Linked DNA regions of Homo sapiens: all the other regions are linked to region 3. The links are contacts of gene promoters, found by promoter capture Hi-C in blood cells and fetal thymus (Javierre and others, 2016). All regions are on one chromosome and are shown on one strand. The core of a region is centred on a gene start or on the middle of the fragment in contact, and the rest is flanking DNA. Distances in the headings are between cores, read along the strand shown.

What was found. Contacts are between HindIII fragments. The CHiCAGO score rates a contact against its expected background, and 5 or more counts as called.
Region 1: a fragment that was not itself captured here is called in contact with the fragment with the promoter of ING3 in region 3 in 9 of 17 cell types (naive CD8 T cells, total CD4 T cells, total CD8 T cells and 6 more); the score reaches 17.4 in naive CD8 T cells.
Region 2: a fragment that was not itself captured here is called in contact with the fragment with the promoter of ING3 in region 3 in 1 of 17 cell types (non-activated CD4 T cells); the score reaches 6.7 in non-activated CD4 T cells.
Region 4: a contact is called between a fragment that was not itself captured here and the fragment with the promoter of ING3 in region 3, in 4 of 17 cell types (naive B cells, naive CD8 T cells, total B cells and 1 more). The highest score is 7.8, in naive B cells.
Region 5: a fragment that was not itself captured here is called in contact with the fragment with the promoter of ING3 in region 3 in 2 of 17 cell types (activated CD4 T cells and naive B cells); the score reaches 5.1 in activated CD4 T cells.
Region 6: a contact is called between a fragment that was not itself captured here and the fragment with the promoter of ING3 in region 3, in 8 of 17 cell types (non-activated CD4 T cells, activated CD4 T cells, total CD8 T cells and 5 more). The highest score is 14.7, in non-activated CD4 T cells.

The regions. Positions count from the first base shown.
Region 1 is chr7:121,390,822-121,394,582 of GRCh38, forward strand. The region is part of intron 1 of FAM3C (FAM3 metabolism regulating signaling molecule C); the gene reads right to left. Among named protein-coding and RNA genes, the nearest start is that of FAM3C, 3.6 kb to the right of the region's middle. The HindIII fragment of the contact is 2,734 bases long and covers 1,122-3,761 here.
Region 2 is chr7:121,411,823-121,415,478 of GRCh38, forward strand. No RefSeq gene overlaps it. Among named protein-coding and RNA genes, the nearest start is that of FAM3C, 17 kb to the left of the region's middle. The HindIII fragment of the contact is 2,464 bases long and covers 1,067-3,530 here.
Region 3 is chr7:120,948,724-120,952,373 of GRCh38, forward strand. ING3 (inhibitor of growth family member 3) reads left to right here and starts at 2,054. Exons shown (of 12, transcript NM_019071.3): 1 at 2,054-2,201; 2 at 2,441-2,512. The coding sequence starts at 2,174. RefSeq lists an enhancer at 2,597-2,676. The HindIII fragment of the contact is 9,487 bases long and covers 1-3,650 here.
Region 4 is chr7:121,351,490-121,355,036 of GRCh38, forward strand. The region is part of intron 8 of FAM3C (FAM3 metabolism regulating signaling molecule C); the gene reads right to left. Among named protein-coding and RNA genes, the nearest start is that of WNT16, 24 kb to the left of the region's middle. The HindIII fragment of the contact is 1,388 bases long and covers 843-2,230 here.
Region 5 is chr7:121,370,380-121,374,386 of GRCh38, forward strand. It overlaps FAM3C (FAM3 metabolism regulating signaling molecule C), which reads right to left. Exons shown (of 10, transcript NM_014888.3): 4 at 1,731-1,760; 5 at 921-1,044. Among named protein-coding and RNA genes, the nearest start is that of FAM3C, 24 kb to the right of the region's middle. RefSeq lists an enhancer at 2,549-2,598. The HindIII fragment of the contact is 1,693 bases long and covers 1,004-2,696 here.
Region 6 is chr7:121,439,583-121,443,401 of GRCh38, forward strand. It overlaps the pseudogene RPL18P4. Among named protein-coding and RNA genes, the nearest start is that of FAM3C, 45 kb to the left of the region's middle. The HindIII fragment of the contact is 190 bases long and covers 1,604-1,793 here.

The DNA of each region.
Region 1 (3,761 bases), core at 1,239-3,738, 440 kb after region 3:
AATCCACACACACAGGAAAGGCTGTGTGGGGCGGGGGGGGGGGGGGGGGGGAAGGTAAGGCAGATCTAAACCAAAAAAGTTCAAAAGTAAAATTCACATGACAAGATTTTTCATTCTTTCTGGAACAGTCAACCTGCCACCAGAATGGGTCTTCAGTTTTGGTGGGCAACAGATAAATCCAGAGAAAATGTGGTGAGGAATAAATAATCAAGAACTCCTGTTTGCAGGGGTTAAACCAGAGTACTAGATTTAATATTACTCAAATGTTTTCTTGCAGTTTTTATTATCTACCAAAGCAGAATTTTGCTTAAAAAGTTATAATCCACTTAACGAAATGAAATGGTGACTGGATTTCTGCAACCAAGACCACAAACATACCCAAAACAGAAAACAAGACAGAACTCTACAAAATGACATTCAGTTTTGCCTGCTATGAGTTCTACAATTGTTTAAACACTTGTGATCTAAGCTACCTTAATCCTATAGTACACCATCCAGGGAGAGATGGATAGATGAATGAATGGATGGACAGAAAGAAATAGCTATTCTTAGAAACAATGACAACAATAAAATGAAATATATTAACTGTTAGAGGTTGAACATAAATGGGGTAATGAAGTGTCCCACTCATAAACTGCTAAAATGAGATTAGAGAAAGGTACACATTTACATACAGTAGAACTGCTATCTTCATCTCATGTAACTATCTCACATTGTACTAGATGAGAAGTTATAGGTTCCTGTTCTACGTGTTTAAGAATTCCCTTAGGTATCCACTCTACTTATGCTGTTTTGAAGTAGTCTGCAGAATTTAAGTGCACCAGGGTAGACATAATTCCATCAGTCACACCCTCCAAATGAAGACATGGAGAAACAGAATGGTTCCATCGCCCAAGGGTCCTGGATGAAATGCAGTATTGGCACACCATTTGTACCACAAAAACTGAATGAGAATTAGCACTGCTGAAGTAAATTAAAATGGAAACCATGCCTGAAGAATCCCCGAGCAGACAAAACCAATTAGGCCTCATAAGTGACATCAACCTCACTTGATTTGCAAACATAAGCAAAATATGAAGTTACTTCTTATAAATGCCTATGCTAAAGAAAAAGAGAACTTAAGCTTAATCAATCAGAAACATCCAACAAACTTCTAATTACATATCTAGGGGACCTTCCAACACGACAGACCAAATAAAACAACTGTATAACTGCAGCCAATCAAATATTTTCTTTGCTTTACATCTGTGACCCTCCTATAAAAGCCTCCCTCCTGGATTCCCCTGGTGGAGCTCCCAGATCTGGTTTGGAGCTGCTCAATTCATGAATTGTTTGTTCAAATAAACTCTAAAGATGCTTCTATTGTAAAATTTTGTGAAAACGTATTGTATTAGTCCGTTTTTGCACTGTTATAAAGAAATACCCAAGACTGGGTAACCTATAAAGGAAAGAAGTTTAACTGACTCACAGTCCCACATGGCTGGGGAGGTGTCAGGAAACTTACAATCATGGAGGAAGGCTAAGGGGAAACAGACACCTTTTTCACAAGGCAGCAGGAGAGAGAAGAGAGAGAGTGCAGGAAAAACTTCCATTTGTAAAACCATCAGATCTTGTAAGAACTCACTGTCACGAGAACAACATGGGGGAAGCCGCCCTCATGATGCAATCACTTCCCTCCCTCGACACACAGGGATTACAATTTGAGATGAGATTTGAGTGGGGACGCAGAACCAAACCACACCACGTATCAACTGAACCAACTTAAAAATCCATTTTTGTTGACCTTGCGTCTTTCAAAACTCATTTAACAATCACTTAACTGCAAGTAATGAATGATATGTTAGGTAGCACACCTGACACCATAACACTACCTTAGCAAGCCTTGTAGAGATTATGACGAAAATCAATTTAGAGATGTTCATATAACTTTCTGAATAGCACACAAAAATTTAACAAATGAATAAACAAAATGCAGTACGTATCAACGAAATGATATATATGTAATGTGGTGTATATGAATGGAATATAGAATGGAATATTACTCACCCTTAAAAAGGAATGAAGTACTGATACCTGCTGATTTAGAGGACGAACCTCTAAAACATGCTAAGTGAAAGAAGCCAGACACAAAAGAACACATATTGAATTATTCAATTTTTAGGAAAATCCAGAATAGATAAATTTATGGGGGCAGAAAGCAGATCAGTGGTTGCCGAGGATTGGCAGGGAGAAGGGAATGAACAACTGCTTAATGAATATGGGGTTTCCTTTTGGGGTGATGAAAATGTTTTAGAAACGTGACGGTTCATAACATCATGAACGTGCTAAATGCCACACTTTAAAATGGAAAATCTGGCTAGGCATAGGGGCTCATGTCTGTAATCCCAGAGCTTTGGGAGGCTGAGGTCGAAGGATCACCTGAGGGCAGATTTGGCCAGCCTGTGCAAAATAGTAAGATCCCGTCTTTTAAGAAAAAAAATTATAAAATTAGTCGTGTGTGGTGGCACATGCCTGTAAACCTAGCTACTCCACAGGCTAAGGTGGAGTTCAAGGCTACAGTGAGTTATGATCACACCACTGCACTCCAGTCTGCAGAACAGTGGGGTACCCTGTCTTTGTAAATAATTTAAAAATAAAATGAAAAATTCTGTTACAGGAATTTAATTTAAAAAAGAAAATTGGAAGAAAAAACTCACTGAAGTTAGAAAAATCATGAATAGCGGATTTTCAAAATTAGATTAAAAATAAGGGAAATATAAGAATAGCTTCAATCAAATGGAGCAGGCCAATGAAGAAGAAAAAGAATATTAATGGGTACACTGGAAAGACTTAGGGGTATTACAACACTTAATTTCCTCCTCTGAGAGGAAGTCAGCCGATTGTGTCTCAAAGAATTGCATTAAAAGAAAGTACAAAACCTTTTAAAAGTTCAAAGATTTTGGGAAATTACCTGGTTCAGTCTACTCAATCAGATTAAAAAGGACTGCATGATATTAAGTAATTTAGTCAATGCCACTCTTGAAATAACTAAATACAGAATCAATGCTTCAAATCCTGATCATCTGATCCCAAGAACAGAGACGCTTCTGGACTAAATTCAAGACAAACTTTTGCTATTATACCAAGGTCGCACAAAAATCTATCTAGCTCAGCGCTAACATAAAAATCTTTTGCTATTTGGGTCTTGCACCTTTCAGCTTTAAGAAATGGGCATAAAAATAAAAATAAAAAAGATTCCCTGCTTTAGAGAAAATAAAGTAGCTTTGTGAGTGCCCAGGCTGTCTTATTCATAGTATCCATGATATCTACAATTACTGGTACATGGTAGGCACTCCAGTATTTTTAAGAGTATAAAAATTTTTGAAAAATGAATCGTTCAAAACCTAAAATATATGGTGGAAAATATATGAGTCTTCTGATACCCCCTCAGGGAACATTACTTTTTGCCATTCCATAGCCTCTTAGCCTTTTGGCTGTCTTTTCCAATTTCCTTTTCCTTTTTAATGTATCTTCATAAATTATGAAAGATTAGTTGACAATGCTTAAGGCAGCAATCCACATTAAAAATCTGTAATTGTAATAAAACATCCATTAAGTTTATTTTTAAAGTCACTTTAAGCCAGTAGTGTCTTATTTTTACTCCCTTTTGAAACAGAAGCCCCTTACAATGAGGATTTTGAGGAACCTGTCCTGTGTCCCTCTTACAAAGTTCCCATTGGTAATTCAGAGAGGTCCTCAGGTTGAGAACTGCTGGACTGAAC
Region 2 (3,656 bases), core at 1,049-3,548, 460 kb after region 3:
ATGGTTGTGCCATCTTATAAAGTGTTCATTTATCTCATGTCTGTCTTGCTCTCTGCCCATCATAAAAGTCCTTTTTGAAAAAAAAAATCCTAATTGCCCATACTCCAATGCATTCTCCACTATTCTAGTTTGAACTTTCAGATAAATAATTTCATCTTAGTTGGTTAGTGGTACAGATGTAATCAATCAATGCACCCCACTCAATAAGCATTGAGCATGTAATCCAATTTCCCAGGTGCTGGCTGATGGCTCCCTTCCCAGAAGTGGTTTACTATTCTAGTAGGATGGAATTTTCGTCCTCTTTCACCTTCTTTGTCCTTTTTATTCGAATCCCTTGAAATCTTTAAGCAAAGAATGGTGATAATTAGCAGAAGAAAGTTCTGTCTTTTAGTTACTTCAATCTAATGCCTGTGAGAATTTATTCACCAAACAAATGTTTATTGAATTGCTACTTGTGTGCCAGGTACAGTTCTGAGATTTGGGGATTTAGAGAGAAATACGAAAAGTCTATGTCCTCAAAGAGCTTACATTAAAACTGGGAAGAACTGAGGGTAAAGTGGGTCCCAAAATGGTAGGTTCCAGGGTAGGAGGCTTTGCTAAACTTTGCAAGTTCAGAAATAGAGATCAAGACCCATACATGGAAGAGATCTAATTGAAAATGAAGGAGGAAGGGTGGCTCAGGGAAAGAGTCTTCTGGGTCCTGAAGGAAGGTGAACTTGTCATTGGCCTAAGCGTGTATTAAGGGAAGAGTAAATACAAATTTATATCATCTTCTGGACTCTAATTCTACTCTTGGTTTACACAGTTATAATTTTTTGAAAGGCAATGGATTAAGCTAACACAATATATCTTTTTAACCCTCAGAAATCAAAATGGAGAGGGATTTTATAATATCACAAAACATTAGATTTTAGTAACAAACAGAAAAAAGAATTGTTATCTCATAGCTCGTGTCTTCTTATGAGGAAAAATGAAATTAAGTTTAAAGTATATAACCAATCAGAAGGTTTACTCTGCTATAAACTATGCTAATTTATTGGAATTGCTTGAAGTTATGATTTTTATAAGCTTTGTTTTCTGCTTCCATATGGAAGAAATAAAAAAAGAAGGGGGGAAAGAGAGGTTAATAACACCTACAGTTTCCTTTTAGTAATAAATTTCAGTTCACTGATAAAATATTTCAACACATACAGACACACACAGACACACGCACACACACACACATATCTTTTTTTTAAACACAAACTGCAGCAGGGAAATTGGAATGATGACCTCCACTTTATCGAAACCTGAGGATGGCACTGTCCCTGCTGACCTGAATTTCTGTTCTTTAAAGTTGAAATCCAAGAAAAACTCCAAAATAAGCAATTAACCTTTTTTTTGTATTGTTTCCAGTAGTCCCTTAATAAAATACAAATATGTGCTGAGAAATATCACCACTAAAGTGTCATTTAAAGTAATTTGTCAGATTTGTTTTAACCATATTATACACAAAAGAGCAAATTCACATCAAAATAGATGGAAAATAGCAGTATGGTGGTGAGGTGTTTTAATTAGATATCTCCAAAAAAGTTAAGAATCAACCTGTGTAAATGTAATCGATGCTGATATAAATTTATTTATATCCATTCTATATCTATATTTATCTCTATCTCTATCTCTTTTCTTTTTGCCTGAAAGGAAAAGTATAGCAGGAGTCACAAAGGAAGACTAAAAGCTACCTTACCATCTATTTTAAAGAGTTTGAAGGAATATCACAGACATAGTCATAGCCTGCATCCCCACTGCCCATCCTAATTTGTGTGTGTGTGTGTGTGCATTGCCTCCTATGCCTAATATTTATTTTTTGCCCTACATTTTATATATATATATACATATATATATATATATATATATAAAATGCCTTATTAATAGATTCAGGTGGCTTCTGTAACAAAGCACTGTGAACTTAGTGGCTGAATACAAAGGTTTCTTCCCTCTGGAGGGCAGAAGTCTGAAGTCAATGTATTGACAGGCTTGGGCCCTCTTGGGGCTCTAGGAGAGAATGTTTCCTTACTTCTTTCAGCTCCAGGTGACTGGGGGCATTCCTTGGCTCCCTTGGCTTATGGCCACATCACTCCAACCTCTGTCTCTGTCTTCCCATTGCCTCTTCTCTGTGTTTGCCTTCTCATCTGTGTGCTTCTTGTAAGGACATTTACAACTGGATTTACAAGGTAATCCAGGATCATCTCCTCATCTCAAAGTCCTTAATTTAATTACATCTGCAAATACCCTTTTTAGAAATAAGGCAACAGTCACAGAGTCTGGGGATTACGATGTGGATGTATCTTTGAAAGAGTCATCATGAACCCATCACATTAACCCATCACACCTTAATAACCATTAAAGTTTCATTTCATAGAGAAATCCTGATATTTATGTCAAGTATCTCAATGTCAAACTTTTCATGTTAGAAAAACTCTTCCAACCTATAGTCAAGGTCTACTTTTCATAGAGTTTATCAGCAGCTAGGCCTTCCTCACCTCAGGCTTTAGTCCAGTGACTTCTCAAATTTGTGGCTACTATTTGTTAGTATGCTAAGGTTGCTACAACAGAGTATCATAGACAGGGTGGATTATACACAACAGATGTTTATTTCTCTGGAGGCTAGAAGTCTGAGATTAAGGTACCAGTGGTGTCAGGTTCTGTTGAGGGTCTTCTTCTGGGTTGCAAACTGCCAACTTCTCCTTGTATCCTCACATATAGAGAAGAAGATGAGAGCGTTCCCTAGGGCCTCTTTTATAAGGGCACTAATCTCATTTACAACAGCTACATTCTCATGACCTAACTACTTCCCAAGTCCCTCCTTCTAATACTATCTCACTGCAGGTTAGGTTTACAACATATGGGAACTTGAGGGGACATATTCAGTCTGTTGCAATTTTTTTTAATCTTTCCTTCTAGAAACATTCCTGTTCTTGAAAAATACAGATCCATAGTGTCTTTGCTTGCTATTGCTCTCAGTACCTACAGCTGAGTTCATAGTGCCCACTTTAGCTAGATTTAGGCTGCTTAGCCCATAATCTTCTGCTTTCATTTTGTTAGAAAACCTTTTTGACAAATCTATTATAATTCAATTATAATAAACACAATAATCATTTTTCTCAAAAAATATTGTGATCACTAATTATTAGATTTTTCAATGCTTTTAGCAATTTTTCTTCTGGTATTATCAACTAGAAGCCATCCTGAACACACACACACACACACACACACACACACACACACACACACATGAGTTCGCTTCCACATGTCTTTCTGATGTACTTATACCAGTGGTATTTTTCATTTAGTTTCAATCTTCCCAATTTATCAAGGTAAAACATTAAAACACAATACTAAAAGGAATTAAATCAGTATTTAGTATTTATGAGTATGTAAGCAATGTTTGAATCTGAACCAAATGTATTTTCTTTCTTTTTAAATTTTCCTCCTAGTTTTTTTAAAAAAATTGATTAGTTTTCTATATATTTATCACTATTTCATTTCCAAGCTTCCCTAGAGAAATGTAAACCTCTAGCTTACCAACACATCATATAATGTATCATTTTCAATTTTTAAAATCAATCTTTAGACCGGGTGCGGTGGCTCACCCCTGTAATCCCAGCACTTTGGGA
Region 3 (3,650 bases), core at 804-3,303:
TGGAGCCCAGTAAAGAAAGAAAAAAAAATTCTCCTCTGAGAATCTGTAACAATCCATTTGGGATAGAGGCCCAAATTCAATCTATCTGTGCAATACAATAAACCTCAAGGGGACAATTTAATCTGGTCCTAGGGGTTTATGATGTCTCCAAACAAACTGACAAGCAAATTCTAATGCTCTCCATGAAAACTCAATTTCAACTCCAGCTCAAAGAATCCTTATGCTTGTAATCCCAGAAACAGGAATTCAGAGTCCAAAATCGCAACCCAACAGGAAAAAGCCACCATGAGTAAAAGTGCCCATTTCTGAAGAAATAGCACTAAAAGGCCCATAAATGTTTCAATATTAGGTTTAACAGAAACAAGATACAGACTAAATAATTTGTATAAGAAATTATAAGATGTCTTGAAAAGAGAACCGAATAGAACTTCCAAACCTGAAAAATTATGAAAATTCTAAAATAAAACATATAAAAGAAAGATTAAGATAAATAAGAGAATAAAGAGAGAAAGTCTTAATGGAAAAAATGAGAAATAAGCAATACTGAAAAGACAAACGCTGAGAATTTTCTAGAATTGTTGCAGGGCACCAATCCTGAAATTCAGGAATCCCCTCAAATCCTAAGCATAATTTTAAAATTTTAAGGAAAGAAAAGGGAATAAGGAAGGAATTCAGACTTAGATCACTACAAAACTGCAAAAAGATGTCAAAGAGATGTTAAAAGCAGCCAGAAGAAGGAAGGATGGGAAACGAAGAAAGGAGGAAAAAAAGAAGGGAGAAAAAGATCGAAAGTACTTGATTTTCGATGGAAGTAATGAAAAACTTAACTAGAAACTATAAAATTCTAATTCTTATTAGGATCGAAGTAAGGTTCCGTTGAGATTCATCATGATTCATCATTCACGACAGGAAAGTTTCCTGCTTAAGAGCAGTGAAAACCTTGAGTACAAGAGTATGTAATGGAGAAGGAAAGCAAGAAACACACACACACAGTTTCAACTGCAATTTGAAAAACAGAAAATGAACAATAAATTATGAACTAATGACAATTTCCCCAGAAAATCGAAAAGTTAAGAAGAGTGGAAAATAACAATATCTAGCATTTATTGAGTGCAAGAGTTTTTAATAAAAAACAATTTAAAAAGAAACTGAGTAGGGACGTACTAAATATATCACAGGAAAACATTTGCTGGGAGAGGTCGAAAAGTAGAAACTAAAGAACGCCGAAGACAACCAACCTCGAATATGGACTATTTACTCAACATAAAGTTACTGCTATTAACAGCCTATTAGAAATCAAGGCTGCATCCGTAATTCATGGCTGCTCACTGTGATGATGAAGATTATTATTATTATTATTTGCGGATGCAGATTGTATGTATAGATCAATTACATTAGAATGACGATTAGATGGACCGCAAACTAGAATATATAAGTGGCTACTGACACTATTTGTGCATCTTTTAATCTGGGAAATGTATATTCACTCCATAGTCTCAGTATAAACTATTTTAAAATTACACGTAAGCCAACCAGGTGTCTCTTTTATATTTTAGAGTGAATAATGAGGATAAATTCCAGTAGAGAGTTCTATTTTAAGCAATCCAAATTCCCCGAACTTTGCTGATTATTCTAGTGTTTAGAACCTTTGCTATTTGCCTGGCACTTCTTGAAACCCATAACTCACAAACGCCGGGGCATGGAATCACATCAAAGAACAGGTGAAAAGTTGTTCCTAGTTGTGTTATGCAGGTGCATACAACTCCCGCCATTCTCTGTGCAAAAATCAACAAATAAACAGAGGCACCGCATTTCGGATTCTGTTACGCACTGTTTGCAATGGCGCCCGGTATTCGTAGTTTCTGCGAGGGGAGCCGCCAGCGCGCCAACCCTCGCTGAGGAGGAAGAAAACTACATTTCCCACAGAGGCACGGGGGCGAACACCGGCCGGGCTACGTCATTGCTTGAACCAACCAATAGCAGCTCCGGGCGGCAGTGAGGCAAGCGCCTCAGGCGCCAAAGTGGTTTTTTTTTTTTTCTTTTTTTTTTTTTGCCGGAGTCGAGCGGGTGCTGCTAGCGGAGGCGCCATATTGGAGGGGACAAAACTCCGGCGACAGCGAGTGACACAAATAAACCCCTGGACCCCCTTGTTCCCTCAGCTCTAAGGGCCGCGATGTTGTACCTAGAAGACTATCTGGAAAGTGAGTGCGCGGCGCTGGCGGCGGCCGCCAGTGGGACGTGCGGGCGGGCAAGAGCGCGAGTGGACGGGCAGCGAGATGGCGGGAGGGAGGGGGCGGCGGGGGATGTTTCTTTCTCACGGTAACTGGCAGCCTCGTTGTGGGCTGCCGGCCCCCTCGACCCCCCTGACGCACGCGCGCAGTGACGTAAGCGCGTATTTCGCCGTTGGCCCCGCCCCTCTGACGGACTCTCCCTTTGACAGTGATTGAGCAGCTTCCTATGGATCTGCGGGACCGCTTCACGGAAATGCGCGAGATGGACCTGCAGGTGCAGAGTAAGTCGGCGCGTCTACTACTCCTGTTCGCTGCGCGCGTTCAGTGCCAGACTTGCTTGTCATCACTGCTAGCGCCTAGTGCTCTTTCACTGTCCTCTGGCTCACTCCGCTAGTGCATAAGGAGTTGTCAAAAAGAACTGGCAGCCCTGAATCTCGCCTTCCCCTTCCCTCCCATGCTACTTTTTTCTGGCTTTTGCAAGAGCAGGAGGCATTGGGACACGTGTATTCCTTTCTAGAATGTGGGATTGTGCAAAAAATATTTCTCTACCGTCATTGACATAGTTATCTATGTTTCAATGGACGTCAGCATAATAAATGTTGAGATGTCGTCTTGAGCCTTTTCGTATCGAACTTAGATTTCAGCATTTATACTTATTTTAAAGTTCATCCTATTCACAGTTTTTCAAGAGTGGAAAGCACAGAAGCAGAGGTTATATATAGCTCTTTAGAGACCATGGCAAATGTCAAATTTTGAAAACTTAGTTACACATTAGATACATTTTAAATTGTAACAGAATCGTCATTTTCTTGGTTAAAATGAGTGACAGAAATTAGATTTCACTGTAAAGTTTCTTATGTGCTGTACTAAAAATTTTAGCAGTTAATGAACATTTCTTTTTCTTTCAGTGATAGCTTGGTAGTCTCTAGGACTTTTTCCCCAAATTAACTTTGCTCTTTCATAGAGCAACGACTATAAATAGGTGGCTCAGGGACCACCTGCTGCAGCTAAGAACCTGTCCTTTTCACTGCTCCTGGCTTCTCTGCCCATGACCACACACCCACTTCTATACCCTTTGCTTATGAGTATATTTTTCCGGTAAGTTTCAGGTGGCACATAATAAAAAGTGGTGGCATGGAAGCCACTTTCTGTTCAGTGGATTGTGATATGAAGTATGAATTGTGTGTGTGGTTCTCCAGCTATCTCACAAATTCATTTTAATTTTAGTGTAGTTGAAATGCTGAAGATTTGCTGAAGTAGTGTTCTCTGCAGGACTGAGCACAGACATTGATGTCAGATCTGAGTTTGTTTTAGGGCTTTACTAATTTACTCATTGACTCTGACTGTATTATCACTTGTGAGGGGCTTACATTGTCTATAAAAAGAGAATCATCCAAGGATTTAAAATGTTACACATGG
Region 4 (3,547 bases), core at 287-2,786, 400 kb after region 3:
AGGACCTGTTAGGTTTTTATTTCACAACAATTCACCTTCATTTAACTTTTTAAATTACACTCATCAAATAAATAAGGGATACCACAGTTAGTAGATGCCTATCCAGGCTATCCAAGGTCTTAAGCAATCAATATTTTTATAAAATTAATCTTTTTGAATCTCCACTAAACCCTCTGTAAATTACATTTGACCAGAATAAAGGTAAATGCTGACAAAAATCTGTATGTTTCTAACACTATGTTTTATTTAAAAGAAAATGAATTTTGAGAACAGATATATAAATTGTACTTCAGTGATAACTGCCAAGTGGTTACTTAATAAAAATGAAAATATTAACCACACAGCAGCTAAATGCCTACTAGCAGGAGGTGGAGCAGTGACAGAAGTCAACCACCAGGGAAACTACTAATTGAAAGATGTCCCTAAAAAATTTTGTGTAAGTGATCATCCTAATGGTCAATGATTTTCTCTCCTTTATCTCTAAGGAGAAAAGAAACTCAGAACATAAATGGTAGCTATAGAGCTTAAAAAAAGAAGAAGAAGAAAAAATTAAGGGCTACTTGTACACATATTTGGCATTGAGTCCTATATACTGCGCAAAAGACAGCTCTAACAGGTCACTTAGAGAGGTTTGTTCTGCTAAAACCTGAGGCAAGGCAAGTTTATATTTCCAAACAGCAGGAAAGTCAGTGAGGAAGGTACTTATTCATTCTACAGTGTTCTTTCAAACCTCTCATGCTAGTATCAAGTAGCTCCTTTAATATCTTAGTGAAAGAAACACTACATAGAACAGTTCTCATTTAACTAAAGAAAAAGGGATACTCTTATGGTTTTTTTAAAAAAGCTTCATAAAACAGGAAAGAACTACATATATCATTAAACTTTCATGATTGATGCCCACCACATCCGTGGGGGCTGTGGAGCTGTTTTGGCCACAGCCTGGGCACTGCTGTCCACCTGGAGGAAGTTCACTAGAATCAGCAAGAAAATAAGCCATAGCCTGTGGAGCATTTAGCCTTTCAGATTCGCCTCCTATATTAAGTGGTACATTTATAGCCAAGTGAACTAAAAAGAAGTGAAATGACTGTGCAGAAGAACCAATCTCAGCCTCTGTGAAGATTGTGAGGCCTTCACATGAAATCTGTGCATATGCACTGGCTTTCCCTCCACAGTTCCTCTGCAGCTTCGTTTCCTGTGCCCATCCTTACATGAATTATCCATCACTTTCCACTTGTTTGCTCACTTGATAACCAACTTTGGTGCTAGAGGGAAATGCCCCAAAATTATCACCTGAACCTTGTTTTCTTGTTTCCAAATGTTATTGGGATGCCATGGATCTAAAAGGCTGTCAAATTCCACTTGCGTAGTTTATCCAAATGTTCTATTTTCTAACTACCTTATGGAAGTCTACACTTGCATCATCAGCACTAGCGATGAGTTTTGCTGCTGTAACAAGAATAAATAGTATTGAAATGTCTAGAGCACAGGCAGTAGGCTCAGTGGTCAGCTAAATGGACTGCCTCCTGCAGAGAGGCTTTGGGGTTCCATTCACATTTACATCTCAAAAAAATTATGAATTGATACCTCACAGGCCTTTAGGGTGGCTCATAAACAGCTGAAATGATGAATGTGAAGTTCACAAATGTTAAGAGATTGCTTTACACAGGAAAAATTCCCTGCAAAATAGAAGGTTATCCAAACGCAGGTCCAGCTCCCTGCCAAAAGTAAAATCTTATCCAAGAATTTTGCACCAACTAAGAAATATGTTGAAGGGCAGTCAGGCATTCTTATTTTTGTACTCCTGAATTTCAGAAGTGACCATTATGATCTGTATGAATAAACCAAGCTGATTTACAATCAAGCCAGAGATCAAGGAGAAACTTAAAGATTGAGCTTTATGTTTTAACTCCATTAATCTTATTCCTTGCTTTTCCATTAGAAGATACTGAGATCCTGTGCAGATATGCATTAACATAGCAGGCCTGAGCTTAGAAAGGCCTACTAGCAAGACTGACCCTTGGCTATCTGGCCACTTGGATTTGCGGAGGGCTCCTATCATTTTCAAAACTGATAAGAATGGTTCATTGTGTCTAAACTGTGGGCAAAAACAATGCAATTTATGCTGAACACTTGTTTTCTCTCTGGGAGTCTGGTATTTTGCAACAGGTTAGGCAGAGGGTGCCTACATGACCAGCCCCTAATAAAATCTCTGGGCATTGAGTCCCTAATAAGCTTCCTTGCAGACAACATTTCCCATGTGTTGTCCTAACTGGTTGCTGGAAGAATTAAGCATGTCCTGTTTGACTCCACTTGGGAGAAGACTCCTTTGTCCCTCCAGACTTTGTCCCATGAACCTTTTCCCTTTGCTCATTTTGCTTTGTGTATTTTTGCTTTAACAAATCACAACCATGAGACCTACTGGAGAACTGTCAAAACTGGGAGTGGTTTGGGGGACGTCTAACACATAGCCCTGTGTATATCTAACTACAGTTTTATAACAAGATGACTTTGTCAATGACTTCTAACACTTTCTGATCTGCCTATGTAGAATTTGGTTGATTATTTTATTATTATTTTTAGATATCTTCTGTGTAACTAAGTAAAAAAAATCTTTATATTTCAAAAGTTTAAAATCATGTAACATAGCCAGTATTTAATTGAATATACAGGAAATGTCAAAATGCCCCTTTTTTAAAAAAGCCAGGGCAGCAAATATATTTTTATATAGCATAAAGGTTGGAGATACAAGCTTTTTATTCCACATAGGGCACTCTGAGTTTGTTACATATATTTTAATCCTTACTAATGGTCTTAACTAGCTGAGTTAAAAATTTATGTCAAATATATTATTTTAGTGAATAATTTTCTTCAAAATGAACAGAAAATTATCCTGTGATAAACCAGGATAGACAGAGAACGGTATCAGGTTTTGCTAGAAGACAATCTAATGCTGCCCAGAGGCAATCTAAACTAGAAAGGGAGGAAGTGGGAACTGGACACAGGAATCTGTGGGTTCTGCCTCAATCCTTGCTGGGAAAGGAGGCACATCGGATAGTCCTACAGTTGCACCATCAAACCAAGCCAATGCTGCCTTTCTGGAAGCACAGAAAGCAAGACGGACAATATTAATGGCTCAATTCTGATTAATAGGGAAGAACAAGCTGGGAAGGAGAAAGTCTGGAAGAAAATCGCCATATTACCTCAGGGCGTTGAAGAGTAAGAAATGCTAACTATATAAGGCATAAATGACGACCCAGCCTAGACTTTAAAGAGAACATATTATACAAAGTTCGGATTAGAAATTTTTATGAGGGAATACGACTCTTTACAAACAAACAGAAAAACTCTATAATTTTCACTATATAATTGCTAACACTTCCAGAAAAAAATGGAGCATAGTTTCTAAATTAGTGCTATCATAGGGATGTTTTATGATGGACTCAAACTTAAGAAAGGAAGTGTGCAAAAATACAAAGCAAACCACATTACTAATGACAAAATTTTTAATACTACTAACCAGGAAGACCTGTAGTGCTCAGAATGAGAT
Region 5 (4,007 bases), core at 600-3,099, 420 kb after region 3:
ATATTAAAAAGAAGAGGCACATAAACAGCTAGGAAAAGCTGCCTAGGTCTCCTCTTTGCTATAAAATTATCTCTTTATTCTATATAATTCGTGACAAATTTATTATTTTATATTAAATTTAAATAAGCCCCCATGTCTAGTTTTCTAGGCAATAGCATATTAAAAGCAACCAACTAAAAGTAGGATTTGCAATTTCAGCAGCAGGAACTTGCGAGCAACAGTTGACACTGAGGTAGGATATCAAAAATCCTAAAAACCATCCTTTAGAAAGCATCTCAACATAGGAAACCATTCAGCTTAGAGGCAAGCAGTTTGTGCTGCAATGGAACTGAGGTTATCACTGGATCATTTCACACTTCAACAAGTAGCACTCAAATATTTTAAATGAAAGACGTTGGATTTCATTTAAAATAAAGAGAACACATTCATTGTCCAGGGCAATGTTGCAAATAGGATTTCTGCCACGATGAAAATGCTCTCTCTGCTGTTCCATTTGGTGACCATGAACCACATGTGGCCACTGAACACCTGAACTGCGGTGACAGATACCAAGGAACTGAACTTTTTAGTTAATTTAAGTGAATTAACTTTCTTCCTAATATTTAAGGATCAAAATTAAATAGCCACATGTGTTCTGTTGCTAGCAAATGGGACAGTGCAGATCTAGAGAATTTACTCAGAGGAAATCTCTTATCTCTATAAAGCCGAATAAGTGTTACGTTCTTAGTCACTCTCTAATATAAAATTTAAGAACTTTAAGGTCCCTTGAATTCATGAGAAAAAAACTACATAACAAAAATGGAAATCACTTTCCATTAATAAAGTATACCGAACACATTTTCAAAATATCCATTAAACTCAGGTTCAATTGGCTGCAATTTAATAGCACACCTTATCGTCTCAAGTCAACAAAGACTTACACATTATCTTCCAGGCAGATTTTGGGTCCCACCACGTTGGCTGCTCCACTTGCCATTTTAAAAGCAAAATGCTTCTCAGGGCAAGCTTTTGAGATCCCACACTTATATCTGGGAGGCTTTGTAGCTTTGGGGGAGAAAACATGATGTCTTTTTTTAGAAAACAAGTTAACAGACTTTACCTCACTTTACTTCAAATCTCAAACCACAAAGAGCATTAAGAAAAACATCAAGATACACGTATCTTAAAATACAAGCTAATTTGTTCCCCTGAGGGTTTCAAAGAACCTCAAAAAATTTTTTTAAAAAAAAACAGCAACAAAGAAACCCACAACAGACACCAGATCTTCCTAGGAAACAAACTAATAATGGATGCAAATGAGTCAAGTAATATGATCTGCATTAGGGCAAATATATTTTATCTAACTATGAGTTTATTTTTAAATTTTAGGATGTGGGGGGTTCTGAATGTTACTTTGCACTTCTAGTCCATATATGCACAAAAAATCGTCACCTCCAGGATAATTAAAAAAGGCCTAATGTTCCATTGACTACCTTGCCCATGTACACTCTTAACTCCTTCTCACACCAATTTCTGTACTTATAATAACGGAGCTAAAAAACACAAAATATCCATCATGAATAATTGCCAAAAATATTTGGGCTGTCCAATCAAATAGCATCCTCATAACTTTAAAAAGCAATTTCTAAAGCAGTTTTTCCTCATACTGAACTACTGACACTTTGAATATAAGCTCTCATATGCCTAAGGCAGAATAAATCATACATAAAATATTGAGATGAAATACTTACAACGTGCAGCTGTGTCCAATGCTGATCTTGCTGAAAAAAAAAAATTACTTTTGTTAGAAGGAATGAGTCTATTGGCAAGTATCCACTTTTAAAATATATTTAGGTCCACAAAAATAAGTGTTCAAATAATGATTCAGTATACAATAAAACATGAATATCACTTAAGAAAAAGTGAGAAAGTAACTTCACACTGTACATTCATTATAAACTATTAAATAATTATGGAGGATAGTATTTTACTACTGATAAAACATTTTATTTTTCCCTTACCATTTTGTTTTGAATTTTAGTTACTATATATTTAAATTTCAATCAGGAAGTTACTCTACAAACTTACCTTTCAATGTTTATAAATATAAATTTGGTGAATATGATGGTGTTTAAAAGTTGTTGCTGCTGTATGGTGTTGTACAGATACGCAAAGAAAGCCCCAGAGAATATACATGAATCTATCTTAGTGGTGAGGTTAGGAGATTGCGAGGGCCAGGGAGGGGGATGAGGAAGATCATTACTAAAAGATTTACAATTTATCAGTTCAAGGAATCCATGAGGTCAAATCTTAATTTGAATGTAGTAGTTCTCAACCTGACCATCTATCATAATTATAGTAGGGCTTTTTAAAAGCACTAACATCTGATCCCAGCCCAGGAGATTATAACTCAGATCATCAGAGTATTGTGGACAGCCATTTCCTGATTTGACTAATAAGTATGCAGTGTGATAAATGTTAACCAGCTGTCTTGCTATAAATAGTCACACAGTTTTTAGTTCTGTACTATTTTAGATAATTGTGAACTTCCTGTAGGTCCAATACTCCAACTAGTAAGCTGAAAGTTAAAAGATTGTATTGAAATGTTTAAAAAGAGGAAAATGACCAAGTAAATAAAAGCTCATTAACTCAATAGAACACTCAGTAGAATATTATGCACCATTAAAGCCATAAAGGTAATATAATAACATTGAAAAAGCTTAATGCCCAGAACAAAGCAGAAAAGAAACCTTATCTACACTTTACTGGGATATAATTTTGGGAAAATCAGTTTTTTAAGTATTTTAAGTACTTAAAGTCAGGATTTTAACTACTTAAAATCAGGATTTTAAGTAAATAACATCACCTCCATTTAATTTGTGTAACAGTAAGGGGAGTAGATACTTTAAGGTGAAGAAACTCCTGTGAAAGACTTTTCTTTCCAGAAGAAAGCTCATTTTTATCCAATACACATCAAAATCAAAAGCCCTGTACTAAGTCTGCAATTCTGAAAACATTAGCACCTGGTGGCCAAACAGGTACATTAGTTTTCATAAACAGCTGTCCAAGTATAGAATACAGGTACAACATACAAACACCAAAATCCCTCCTCTCCTACAACTATTTTCCCCTCAAACTACACTGATAGCTTCAATGCTTAATTTCTTTCTGCATATACACTTCATTTCATGGAACAATAATAAACATTTGTTATTGCATTTCATCAATGAATGTCCTTCAGTAAGTCGGGCTAATGAATCAGAACTATTTTGCACTTTAGTTGTTAATAATGTCTCAAGTAATTTATGTATATACTATATACCAATGGTTTAAATCTGAAAAGGTAAAAATAAATAAATTCAATAGAACATTAAGTATTTATGGCCGGGTGCAGTGGCTCACGCCTGTAATCCCAGCACTTTGAGAGGCTGAGGCGGGTGGATCATGAGGTCAGGAGATCGAGACCATCCTGGCTAACACGGTGAAACCCCATCTCTACTACAAATACAAAAAAAAAAAATTAGCCGGGCGTGGTGGTGGGCAGGGAGAATGGCGTGAACCCGCGAGGTGGAGCTTGTGGTGAGCCGAGATTGTGCCACTGCTCTCCAGCCTGGGCGACAGAGCAAGACTCCGTCTCAAAAAAAAAAAAGAAAAAAAAAAAGAACATTAAGTACTTATTGCAGCAATATAGACAAAAATAATTTGGACTGTGTTCAGTTCACTTACTAGCTAAGTATTCAAACTGAAAACAACACTACATTACACCACAATGCTGAATAAGATTGGTGAATTGTATCCATGTTGATGTCCTGATTGTGATAGTGTATTATAGTTTTGCAAGATATTACCAATGGGAGAAACTGAGTAAACAGTATGCACCATCTCTCTGTATATTCAAATGGATTTGTAAAAAACAATACAATTATCTCAAAATAAAGTTTTATAAAAAATTGTTTTTAAAAATTCATAATCGACATTGGTAATTTCAACTACTAATTGTAGGCAAAATTTTCATTCTTCCTTTCTAG
Region 6 (3,819 bases), core at 449-2,948, 490 kb after region 3:
TGGCTAGCCATGTGTAGAAAGCTGAAACTGGATCCCTTCCTTACACCTTATACAAAAATTAATTCGAGGTGGATTAAAGACTTAAATGTTAGACCTAAAACCATAAAAACCCTAGAAGAAAACCTAGGCAATACCATTCAGGACATAGGCATAGGCAAGAACTTCATGTCTAAAACACCAAAAGCAATGGCAACAAAATCCAAAATTGACAAGTGGGATCTAATTAAACTAAAGAGCTTCTGCACAGCAAAAGAAACTACCATCAGAGTGAACAGGCGATCTACAGAATGGGAGAAAATTTTTGCAATCTACTCATCTGACAAAGGACTAATATCCAGAATCTACAAAGAACTCAAACAAACTTACAAGAAAAAAACAACCCCATCAAAAAGTGGGTGAAGTATATGAACAGACACTTCTCAAAAGAAGACATTTACACAGCCAACAGACACTTGAAAAAATGCTCATCATCACTGGCCATCAGAGAAATGCAAATCAAAACCACAATGAGATACCGTCTCACACCATTAGAATGGCGATCATTAAAAAGTCAGGAAACAGGTGCTGGAGAGGATGTGGAGAAATAGGAACACTTTTACACTGTTGGTGGGACTGTAAACTAGTTCAACCATTGTGGAAGACAGCATGGCGATTCCTCAAGAATCTAGAACTAGAAATACCATTTGACCCAGCAATCCCATTACTGGGTATATACCCAAAGGATTATAACTCATGCTGCTATCAAGACACATGCACACGTATGTTTATTGTGGCACTATTCACAATAGCAAAGACCTGGAACCAACCCAAAAGTCCATCAGTGATAGACTGGATTAAGAAAATGTGGCACATACACACCATGGAATACTATGTAGCTATAAAAAATGATGAGTTCATGTCCTTTGTAGGGACATGGATGAAGCTGGAAACCATCATTCTCAGCAAACTGTCGCAAGGACAAAAAACCAAACACCGCATGTTCTCACTCATAGGTGGGAATGGAACAATGAGAACACTTGGACACAGGAAGGGGAACATCACACACTGGGGCCTGTCGTGGGATGGGGGGAGGGGGGAGGGATATCATTAGGAGATATACCTAATGTAAATGACGAATTAATGGGTGCAGCACACCAACATGGCACATGTATACATATGTAACAAACCTGCACATTGTGCACATGTACCCTAGAACTTAAAGTATAATAATAAAAAATTAAAAAAAAAGAAAAAAGAAGGTAGGATCCAGGGTTAGTTTTTGTAGCCTTGGCTGGCCCCTTGGCCTCTGGCATACTCGAACTTCCGGCCCTTGGAGCGGACGTAGGGTTTGGTGTGGCTGTGTGGGGTTCCCAGGGCCTTGTCGAAATGCCAGTACACCTCTCGACCCTTGCGAGGACCTGAGAGCAGGACGGTGCCGCAGACCTTGGGGGAGTCCAGGGCCAGCTGGTCGAAAGTGAGGTTCTTGCCCCCCACCCTGAAGATGTGGCTGCGGGCCCGGCTGGTCACGCCCAGTGCACACACCTTCAGTTTGGGCACCTCCTGAACCCACACGTCATCTGTTATGGTTCCCACAACCACGGCCGTTTTGTTTTCCTGGCCAGGAAGCTTCATTTTCGGGATCATCCGGGAAAGGGACAGAGGTGGCTGGTTGGTGCACTCATAAACAACCTCTTCAGCACTATTACTTTTTTTAAAGTGCCCTAAATATCCTTATCAGAGGGGTATTCTTACTTTCACTTTCTCTTTTTTTCCCCTCAGGGCTTTCTTGCCCTCTATTTAAATCTTTCTTCTAAAGCTTCTCTTCCAGTCCTAGGATCCCCAATTCTTTGTCTCCCTTGTCTTCCAAGGGAACATTTTTTTTTAACAATTCTTAATTATGCAAAGAATTTTATTTCTTCATTCTCTCAACCATTCCAATTCTAACTGAGCTCTAGGGCCTACCTACATTTAACTAAATGAAACTAAACAACAAAATCATCAGGATATGGCTGACCTATATTATGGAAGCAAGCTTGAGTCATCTTTTTTAATAGGAATTTTGTCTTCTTCCTACAAATGCATTGTTGCCAAAGAGAGTCATAGAGGGAAGGATTTTGCATAGGGAGAGATGAGCTTGGGATGGGTAGAATCAAAATTTCAGAGAGTTTTAAGGGGTGGGTAATGGGCTTTTGCACAAAATCGTAAAATAAAGAAAAAGAGAGAAGGGAGCTTTTCAGCTGAAGGTGGATAAGGTTTCTATTAGTCATCTGTGGGGAGAGATAGATGGATATTAAAAGGAGAGGACAGTTTACATATATAGAAATTTATAAAGGCCTAAATACAGACACAGGAAAGACAACCCACCTGTTTCTAGCATCCTAGGTAGCACATTTGTGTGGAGCCAATAAAAAAAGTGTACACAAATAAACCAATTATATTCAGGTATGTTTTGAAAGAGCCATGTTGACTGGCCTAAGATGTGGGAAAAAAGCCAGGGATTTTGTTCACAGTAAGTTCAATACAAACAAATCCAGTGATTTGCCAAAAGAGCTAACTAGTATCTTAGCCCGCATTAATGCAATTTCAGTCTCTTTAATAGTGTAGTGTTGTTCTACAGCACTTACCATGGGGAGTAAATGAAGCATTTCTAGCATGGTAATGAATCTATTGGTAGTACAGTCATTAATGAACTGTTTTTTGTTTTGTTTGTTTTGTTTTGTTTTTGACGGAATTTCGCTCTTGTTGCTTAGGCTGGAGTGCAATGGTGAGATCTCGGCTCACCACAACCTCCGCTTCCTGGTTTCAAGTGACTCTCCTGCTTCAGCCTCCTGAGTAGCTGGGATTACAGGTGCCTGCCACGACACCTGGCTAATTTTGTATTTTTAGTGGAGATGGGTTTCTCCATGTTGGTCAGGCTGGTCTGGAACTCCCGACCTCAGGTGATCCACCCACCTTGGCCTCCCAAAGTGCTAGGATTACAGGTGTGAGCCACTGTGCCCGGCCCTGGTTTATTTTTATTTTTATTTTTATTGTTTTTGGTTAAGTTTTTATTTGGTCATATTAAGACACAGTAAAGTTTTGCTTCTATAAAGTGAATAATCATTAATTTTTTTTTTTTTTTGTAATTCAAGGGAAAACTTAAGTTTGGTTGGTTAATTTTCCTTTTTCCCCTCTATATAGATGCTCTTAAGAGAATAATTGTAGTTAAAAAAACATAAGTAATTACACTTTTGGAAGCCAGCATGTTACATTACAGTTGTGCAGGGAGGATCAGAGGTAGAAACCCCAAGAAGCTACTGCAGGCCTGACTCCTTCTTCCCTTCCTTGCCCAGCCCCTCTAGTTTTGCCTGAGGGATGCAAGGTAAACTACATCAACAAAGGTCCAGGAACCACAACAATTCTGAGGTCACAAATCATCTAGGCCTGCAGGTGGATGCCCTAGATTGTAGGCATTGATGCCAAGGAAGGAAACCACCCTCTTAACACCTCACGATCTGTAGGGCATTGACAGCAGAGGCTTTTACTCCTCAGCCCCTCCCCTGAAAGGCCTTGATTAGGAAGGTAGCTGAGTCACCATAGAAAGGCCAAGTATGTGTAACACAGCCAATACTGAGAGTGAATTCTGATAGACAACCTTTCTCCGAATTATGTTTTATTTCTGTTTTTCTATATCCATATTGTTTTCTATATTTATTTTCATATATTCTATATTCAGAACATAGAATATGATTCTGAATATATAATTTTTAATATTTAATAGAGACATGGAGACATTAAATATTAAATATTAAATTTAATATTTAATAGAGATATATTTAATACAGACATGGAGAAACCCCA